Linked DNA regions of Homo sapiens: regions 1 and 3 are each linked to region 2. Evidence: promoter capture Hi-C in 16 types of primary human blood cells and fetal thymus (Javierre and others, 2016). All regions are on one chromosome and are shown on one strand. Each heading gives the region's core, a stretch centred on a gene start or on the middle of the fragment in contact. The rest is flanking DNA. Distances are from core to core; before and after follow the strand shown. Region 1 overlaps CACNB4 (calcium voltage-gated channel auxiliary subunit beta 4). Region 2 holds the start of CACNB4 (calcium voltage-gated channel auxiliary subunit beta 4). Region 3 overlaps STAM2 (signal transducing adaptor molecule 2).

Evidence for each region. The method cuts DNA at HindIII sites, captures the fragments that hold promoters and counts their contacts. A CHiCAGO score of 5 or more calls a contact.
Region 1: a fragment that was not itself captured here is called in contact with the fragment with the promoter of CACNB4 in region 2 in 1 of 17 cell types (M2 macrophages); the score reaches 5.6 in M2 macrophages.
Region 3: a contact is called between a fragment that was not itself captured here and the fragment with the promoter of CACNB4 in region 2, in 1 of 17 cell types (M2 macrophages). The highest score is 5.5, in M2 macrophages.

Annotation. Positions count from the first base shown.
Region 1 is chr2:152,025,011-152,027,710 of GRCh38, reverse strand. The region is part of intron 2 of CACNB4 (calcium voltage-gated channel auxiliary subunit beta 4); the gene reads left to right. Among named protein-coding and RNA genes, the nearest start is that of CACNB4, 73 kb to the left of the region's middle. RefSeq lists an enhancer at 1,511-1,580. The HindIII fragment of the contact is 2,245 bases long and covers 139-2,383 here.
Region 2 is chr2:152,097,594-152,100,293 of GRCh38, reverse strand. CACNB4 (calcium voltage-gated channel auxiliary subunit beta 4) reads left to right here and starts at 1,250. Exons shown (of 14, transcript NM_000726.5): 1 at 1,250-1,345; 2 at 1,881-1,964. The coding sequence starts at 1,283. RefSeq lists a silencer at 1,052-1,341. The HindIII fragment of the contact is 7,735 bases long and covers 1-2,700 here.
Region 3 is chr2:152,169,473-152,172,172 of GRCh38, reverse strand. The region is part of intron 1 of STAM2 (signal transducing adaptor molecule 2); the gene reads left to right. Among named protein-coding and RNA genes, the nearest start is that of STAM2, 4.9 kb to the left of the region's middle. The HindIII fragment of the contact is 4,391 bases long and covers 1-2,700 here.

The DNA.
Region 1 (2,700 bases), core at 12-2,511, 73 kb after region 2:
CCAGGTAATTTTTGTATTTTTAGTAGAGACTGGGTTTCACCGTGTGGGTCAGGCTGGTCTCGATCTCCTGACCTCGTGATCCGCCCGCCTCGGCTTTGGCTTTTATGGTGGTCAGTGGTTTGGGCTGGGGCCAAAGCTTGTGTGGTTTGAGCTTCCCACTGGAGCCAAAGAGGTAGCACATGGCTTTCCTGTCACTTCCCTTGGTGTGAGTCAGGAGGGGAGGTGGCAGGGGAGGAGCTTGAAAACTCAGGGAGGCTTTCCTGACCATAACTTGTGAATACCTGATTTTATATTTAAAATCTATCTAATTACAGTTTCTTCTGCTAGATTGTAAGCTCTTTGATTTGTTCAGCATCCAATTTCCACAGCTGAGAACTGCCCCAGGCAGTCAGAGGCTCTCAGTAGATATTTGCTGAAACAATACAAAGGAGATGAAGGAGTGGCCAGAAAAATGGGAGGAGGTGCCTGAAAGCCAACAGAAGAAATGATTCTAAGAAAGGAGGAATGTGGCTGGGAGCCCTGGCTCACGCCTGTAATCTCAACACTTTGGGAGGCTGAGGTGGGCGGACCACCTGAGGCCAGGAGTTTGAGACCAGCCTGGCCAACGTGGACCCTGTCTCTACTAAAAATACGAAAATTAGCCGGGCATGGTGGCATGTGCCTGTAATCCCAGCTACTGAGGAGGCTGGGGTAGAAGAATCGCTTGAACCCAGGAGGTGGAGGTTGCAGTGAGCTGAGATTACACCACTGCACTCCAGCCTGGGTGACAGAGTGAAACTCCGTATCAAAAAAAAAAAAGAAAGATAATTGTGTCAAATGCTGTCAATGGGTCAAGTTAGATGAGCCCAAGATTCCCCAATGGACTTAACAATATGGATACCATTGGTGACCTCAGTAAGACCAGTTTTGGTCTGGAGTAGTGAGCAGAAAAGCCTTATTGGAATGGGTTCAAGAGAGAATGGAAAGATTGAAGTTAGAGTCAGTTAATATGGACAATTCTTCTAGGTACTATAGCAGTAAAAGGGAGTGGAGGCCGAGTGCAGTGGCTCATGGCTGTAATCTCAGCACTTTGGGAGGCCGAGGCAGGCAGATCACCTGAGGTCAGGAGTTCGAGCCCGGCCAACATGGAGAAACCTCATCTCTGCTAAAAGTACAAAAATTAGCTGCGCGTGGTGGCATGCACCTGTATTCCCAGCTATTCAGGGGGCTGAGGCATGAGAATCGCTTGAGCCCAGGAGGCAGAGGTTGCAGTGAGCAGAGATGGCACCACTGCACTCCAGCCTGGGTGACAGAGCGAGAACCTGTCTCAAAGAAGAAGAAAAAAAAAAAAAGGGACTAGAGAAGTGGAGCCCAGAGAGGGTTTTTATTAATATGATAGCATGTTTATATGTTGACGCTGATGGAAACAGTCCAGTGGAAAGGAAGACGCTGAAGATTCAGGAGGGAAGGAGGAAAATTGCTGGGGCCCTGTCCTGGAGTAAGATCCAGTGCTCGAGTGGAAGGGCCGGTCTGTAAGGGATTTGGTCAGTTTGTTCACAACAACGAGAAAAGGCAGAGTGTGTGAACCCACTGCAGGTAAGAGGGGAGATGTGGTTCACTTCTGGTAGCTCCTAGGAAGCTCTGTGGACATTCATGCCAAGTGACTTGTGGTGGCCTCGGCCCTGCGCCTCCAGAGGTGTCGGCTGCATCAGCACCTGCAGGGGGCGCCCTGTGCACGTCCTGTTCTCACATCCTCTTTACTAAACACGGAGATAGATGGAGCAACCCTCCCGCTGCAAACACAGCTCTTCACAGCTCTGACGTTTTTCTACTATACTGCAAACACATCTGTAATCACATTTAAAAATAAATCCACACAAGAAAAATTCACTGTTTCTTGTATAACAAGTGTAACTGTGACTTCTGAGACAACGCTGAACATTTTCTGAAATCTTGTCAAAAACCACACGGGGGCACTATTCCTTTAAAATACACAGTACGGTATGTCCAATTTTGATGACTGAAACAGTGGCATCTTTGAAGTTCAATTTCCTGAAGTTTATTTTCCTTTTAGAAGAGAGGCTGTTGTGTCACAATAACAAAATATTTTCTGTACTTCATAGATGATTTGAGATATTCCAAACTCCTAGATTTTTTATTTAATCTGGCCCCTGGGCAATCATTCTTTTAGTGTTACAGCCACTTCCTTTGCATTTAAGGCACAATGCATATTTGTCTTATTTCTGCTCTTTCTTATGCTTACAATAGAGGCTGTGAGCTAGCAGCGAGTCCAGTTTGTGCTCATATCTGGAATAAGGTTGTCTGAAGTAGACAGTTTGAGAGAAAATGTCGTTGTCTTTCTTGGTTCTCATTCCACCGTTCCCCAGCTCTCGCCTCTGAAGCTTGAGCTATTACACTTTTTATGACAGGAAAGAAAAAATTAAGTCTTTTGAACAATTTCCTGTTTTCAGGAAAGCTATCAAACTTAATTTACACATATGAAAGAAGAGGTTTCAGAGGTAGTGTAGGATTAGGAGAATAGAATTTGCTCACTGTCTAGCAATAGATAAGCTAGTATTTGCAAATAATTTAGCCAAAATGACAAATTAGTTGAAAGTTAATATCGGGCCTCAGATTTCTGGTTTTGCAAAATTTATTTATTATTTTTATTTTTTTGAGACAGAGTCTCACTCTGTTGCCCAGGCTGGAGTACAGTGGTGT
Region 2 (2,700 bases), core at 1-2,500:
GTTTTGCCTGTAGTGTGTAGATGGAATGAAATCTCTGCGTGTGTATGTGTGCATGTGCATACGTGCACATGCACCAGGAAGCCTGGAGGCAAGGACATTAGTTATAAGATTGTTACAGAGGTTTGGATTAAGTGAAGGGATTAGGAATGGAAAGGAAGTGTCTGGTGGATGGTAAGATATAACCAGGACCTCAATAAAGCCAAGCAATTATTAAAACAAGCATGGTAGTTGTGTCCATAAACATAAAGTCCTAGAATGCAAGCTGATTTAGCGATTTGAGATAGTAAGTATATTTTAATTTAAACGGAGTCTCTTTATTTTTGAATTTGCATATACTTTTCTTCCCTCTTCTTATTCCTCTGTCAATACCTCGCACTTATTCTTCCTTTCCGCAATCCCTCTCTTTTAATTTGATCACAAATTAATCTCTTGTATGTATTTACAGGAGGAAACCAATGGCAAACGTTGTGTATGGTTGCAAGGATGAGTTTCTCCCCCTTGAAAATATCCATTCGCATAGAAATGGGAGGCACAGTGACCAACTCTTGCTTCTTAGCAGGTCTAACATGACCTTCAAAACTCCGTAGGACATACTGGTCTTTGGCGGGGCAGCATCTCCCGTCAGACTCAGGCTGGCTGGGTTTCTCACAGCTGCCTGGATGTGTGTGACTCGCAGCTCTAAGGACAGAATTGCCAAAGCAATACAAAAACACGGACGAAAAGCAAGCCACAAAACCCCATGCCTTACACATTAGGCTGATGAGTGAAGTCGCGGAAGGTGGCTCTGCTCTTGCCCTTTTAAAATTCCAGTGCAGCAAACACACACACACACACCCGCTCGGTTCTTCCCATTCCCGCCACACTGCACCAGCTTCCGTCCCCAAGTCCTGATTCATGAACCGTGCCACCTTTGTCTCATTTTAAACTGTGCAGACTATTTTAATCTTGCCACCCCCATCCCAGATTTCCCCCTCCCTTCATCCTCTGGAAGCTCTGATGTAAAGCGCTTGCTAGGTGGGAGAGCGCTTCTCCCAATCCGCTCGGGTAGGCGAGTTTCCGAGAAGCCCCCTCCCCGGGACCCCGCCGCGAGCGCGGGGGAAGCGCCTCGGTCCCTTTAAGGTGCCGCGCTCTCCGAAGTGCGGGCAGGGAGCCTGGGCGCCGGCGCGGGTCCTGGAGCCGGGTGGGGAAGTCCTGCGCCCTCCCCCTCCGTCCGCAGCCCAGCCTCGGGGGCCAGCCCCCTCCGCCCACCGCACACGGGCTGGCCATGCGGCGGCTCTGAACGATGTCCTCCTCCTCCTACGCCAAGAACGGGACCGCGGACGGGCCGCACTCCCCCACCTCGCAGGTACCGCCCCCTCCTCCCCCTTCTCCTCTTCCTCCTCTTCCTTCCTCACACCTCCTCCGCCGCCCTAGCGCGCCCCGCCTTCGTGCCGGGCGTGCGGGGCCCCAGTCCCGGGAGTCGGCGGCCCCGCTCCCCCCACCCCTCCTCCACGTCCCTTTCTCCTCCCGCTCCTCCTCTTTCTCCTCCTTCTCTTCCTCCTCCTCCTCACCCTCCTTCGGGTCTCTGCGCTCCCGCTCCGGAGCCCGCAGCCTCCCCCAGCGGATGCCGGGGACTCGGACCCCGCACCCTGAGAGTCTTTGTTAATGGATGTGGTGGGTGCTTGCGGGCTGCTCTTCTCGAGCATCTTTTCAGCAGTCGAGGCTTGCAGTGGGTGGGTGGGGGTGGGGGCTGTATTTGGGAGTCGCGGAGGAGACTTGGGTGCGGGCTCTAGGGGACCCCAGGGAGCGGGTCCGGAGGCGGACTCCAGCCGGGGGTGGTCGCCCCGCTCTGCGCTGCGGTCCTCACCGGCTTCTCTCTGGCCCCCGTGTGTCGAGTCCAGGTGGCCCGAGGCACCACAACCCGGAGGAGCAGGTTGAAAAGATCCGATGGCAGCACCACTTCGACCAGCTTCATCCTCAGACAGGTATGAGAAGGAGGCGGGAGACCAGGATGGGGAGGAGGCCGAGCGCGCGGCGCGGGGGTCCTGGAGCCGGCCGTGGCCCACACGTGCGGGAGCTGCGGGTCAAGCCCGCGCGCGTCTCTTCCCGGCCTCGGCCGGTGCTCGGGCTCAGTCCCTCTCCCTCTAGCCTGGGCTCTTGACGTCTTCGCGTCCCGGCGTCTCCGCACCGCCCCGGGAAGTTAGTTTGTGCATGTGTGTGGACAGTTCGGTGGGGACCTGGCTTAAGTCAGGGACGTTGAATTTAAGAGCTGGAAATATGTCTGGTTGTATCTTTGGTGCGTGGAGAAATGTCTTTAATTCGTATAACTCGACCTAGAGTAACCAGACCCCTCGGGGCCGGGGACCTGGTTTGATTCGAGTTGAGATTTAGTGGTTTCTTCTGTTTTGTCCTAATTTGAATACTCTTATCTGTCTGGATCTTGGGAGAGATCGTCAAGCTCCGGTCAAAAGAAAGACACTGAGCAGAAAGTTTACTCTCACTTTAGGACCGCTTCTTGGATTCGCTTAGTTAGGGAAAGACAGCTGTATCTGGTTAAATAGGAATTAACGAAGGCCAGCACTCAGCTCCGGGTCTGGGTGCGCCTTCACTTCGTGTTTGTTTTCTTAGTGCTTGCTTTCTCCTGCGTGGTTCTAGTGCGAATTGTCTGTGCTCGGGATCTCCGGATCGCTGGTAATGCTCAATGCTTAGGTGCCTTTCACC
Region 3 (2,700 bases), core at 117-2,616, 72 kb before region 2:
ATTTCTTTGATGTGTTCTGAGGGGAAAAAAGAAAATATCCTTAGGTCCCACCTCTTCTCCCCAGCTGGGCCTCAAGTGTTAGAGGGGTACAGGGATCTTGAGGTAGAGCCTGGTTGGAGTAGCCATTCTTGTAGAATTCCAAGGGGAAAGTGAAACATGGGGGACGGGGCCACAGTGGTTAGTGTTAACAGAGAAGATGTCATTTCCTTATTCATTGATTTCCAAGTCATGACTTGTCTGTTCTAAGCCTTAACTCCGGTTCTTGTTTGCATATCTTTTTTCCCTTTACTCAAGCCAGGCAATCTTTCTTGCCAGTTTTCTGCCTCTGTGCTATTTACCATTCATTGCTAAATGTTTGCTCTTTTCAACCTTGGTATTTCCTTTAAAGATACGCTTGTGTCCCACAAAGCTGAGCTCAAATTCTACCTCTACAAAACTCTGTGGACGCAGTGGTTTGAATTGTTAGCTTTTAAGAGAATACATTTCCAAGTGACATTTTAATGTGTGTATTGCTGTGTTTCTGACTTTTGCTGTGTTAGAAGAAGTTGACCAGGAAGTAGCTTGGGACTTTCTCCAGTGAAATGCAGTCATGCAGTCCTTTTCTCCAGTGAAATTTTATAAGAAATCCCAATATAAAAATAGATATTGATAGCATAAGAATAATATAAATTCATAACATACACACAAATTTATAACATTTACTTAACTAGGCCACTCTTTGTACAATAAGTTAAAATCTTTGTAAAAGTAAAAATTTTTTTAAAAAGTTTTTTGGTTTTGAATAAGAATAGTAGACTTAACAGCCAGTTTTTTTTCTAATATATTTTGTAGCTTTTTAAACTATGAAATATTTTCAGCATAAAATAGAAAATATGAACTCCCATTCCTGCCAGGCAATTATGTCAAGTGCTAATATTTTGATATACTTGATTCTTTTTTTTTAAGAAAGGAACATTCAAGATGCAGTGAAATACTTTAGTATTTTTAGCAGCTACCTGATCCCATTCTTCCTCCTTTCTCCGAGTTAAACACTCTATAAATAGATAGAAATTCTCTTTAATAGTATAATACTACACTTACAAATATACTATATATTGTTTGGATGTTTTTAAACTTCTTAAAAATGGTGTCTTTTTGTCATTCTGCAACTTTTGTCATCCAGCATTTCTTCTTTTTTGAGACGGAGTCTTGCTCTGTCGCCCAGGCTGGAGTGCAGTGGTGTAATCTCAGCTCACTGCAACCTCTGCTTCCCAGGTTCAAGCAATTCTTGTGCCTCAGCCTCCCGAGTAGCTGGGGTTACAGGTGCGCACCACCATGCTCGGCTAATTTTGCATTTTTTAGCAGAGATGGGATTTCGCCATGTTGGCCATGCCAGTTTCGAACTCCTGACCTTAGGTGATCTGCCTGCCTTGGCCTCCCAAAGTGCTGGGATTACAGGCGTGAGCCACCGTGCCTGGCCCATTCAGCATTTCTTCGTGAGAGTTATTCATGTTGATGTTTGTAGCTCTAGGTTATAAATTTTAATGGCTGCGTGATACTATACTACTATATGAATATGCATTATCTGTTGTCCTATTGACGAACATGACTTTGTTTTCAATTTCTTGCACCTACAGACAGCTCTGTATTGAAAGTTTTTATCTATGTTTTCTTGTGTTTATGGGTGCAAGATTCTTTTTTTTTTTTTTTTGAGACGGAGTCTTGCCCTGTCACCCAGGCTGGAGTGCAGTGGCGCGATCTCAGCTCGCTGCAACCTCCATCTCCCAGGTTCAAATGATTTTCCTGCCTCAGCCTCCCAAGTAGCTGGGATTACAGACGCCTGCTACCATGCCCAGGTAATTTTTTTTTGTATTTTTAGTAGAGACGGGGTTTCACATGTTGGCCAGGCTGGTCTCGAACTCCTGACCTCGTGATCCGCCCGTCTTGGCCTCCCAAAGTGCTGGGATTACAGATATGAGCCACTGTGCCCAGTGGAGTGCAAAATTCTTAAAGGTTGTCGTCTTGAAGGGGAATTCTTCAGTAGAAGTGTAGCTCTTGGCCTGGTGTGGTGGCTCATGCCTGTAATCCCAGCACTTTGGGAGGCTGAGGTGGACAAATCTTCTGAGGTCAGGAGTTTGAGACCAGCCTGGCCAACATGATGAAACGTGTCTCTACTGAAAATACAAAACTTAGCTGAGTGTGGTGGTGAATGCCTGTCATCTCAGCTACTCGGGAGGCTGAGGTAGAAGAATCACTTGAACCTGGGAGGCGGAGATTGTGCCACTGCACTCCAGCTGGGGCAACAGAGTGAGACTCCATCTCAAAAAAAAAAAAAAAGTGTAGCTCTTGCAAAGTTGCCCTTCCAAGTGTTTGTTGATTTCCCTCCTGTCAGCAGTGAAATTCCTGTTGTTCCACATCCTCACTAATGCTGAGCATTGTCAGATTTTCTAATTTATGCCTATCTGATGAATATGAAGTAAGACATTGTTTTCATTTCATTTTCTATTTCTACTTCATTGCCAGTGAAGATGAGCATTTTTTCATATGTTTCTTCATCATTCTGTTTTCTTTTTCTATAAATTGCCTGCTCATTACTTTTATTATTCTGTTGGGTTACTTTTTAAAAATTGATGGCAGGGTGCAGTGACTCACACCTGCAATCCAAACACTTGGTGGATTGCTTGATCTCAGGAGTTCGAGATCAGTCAGGGCAACATGATG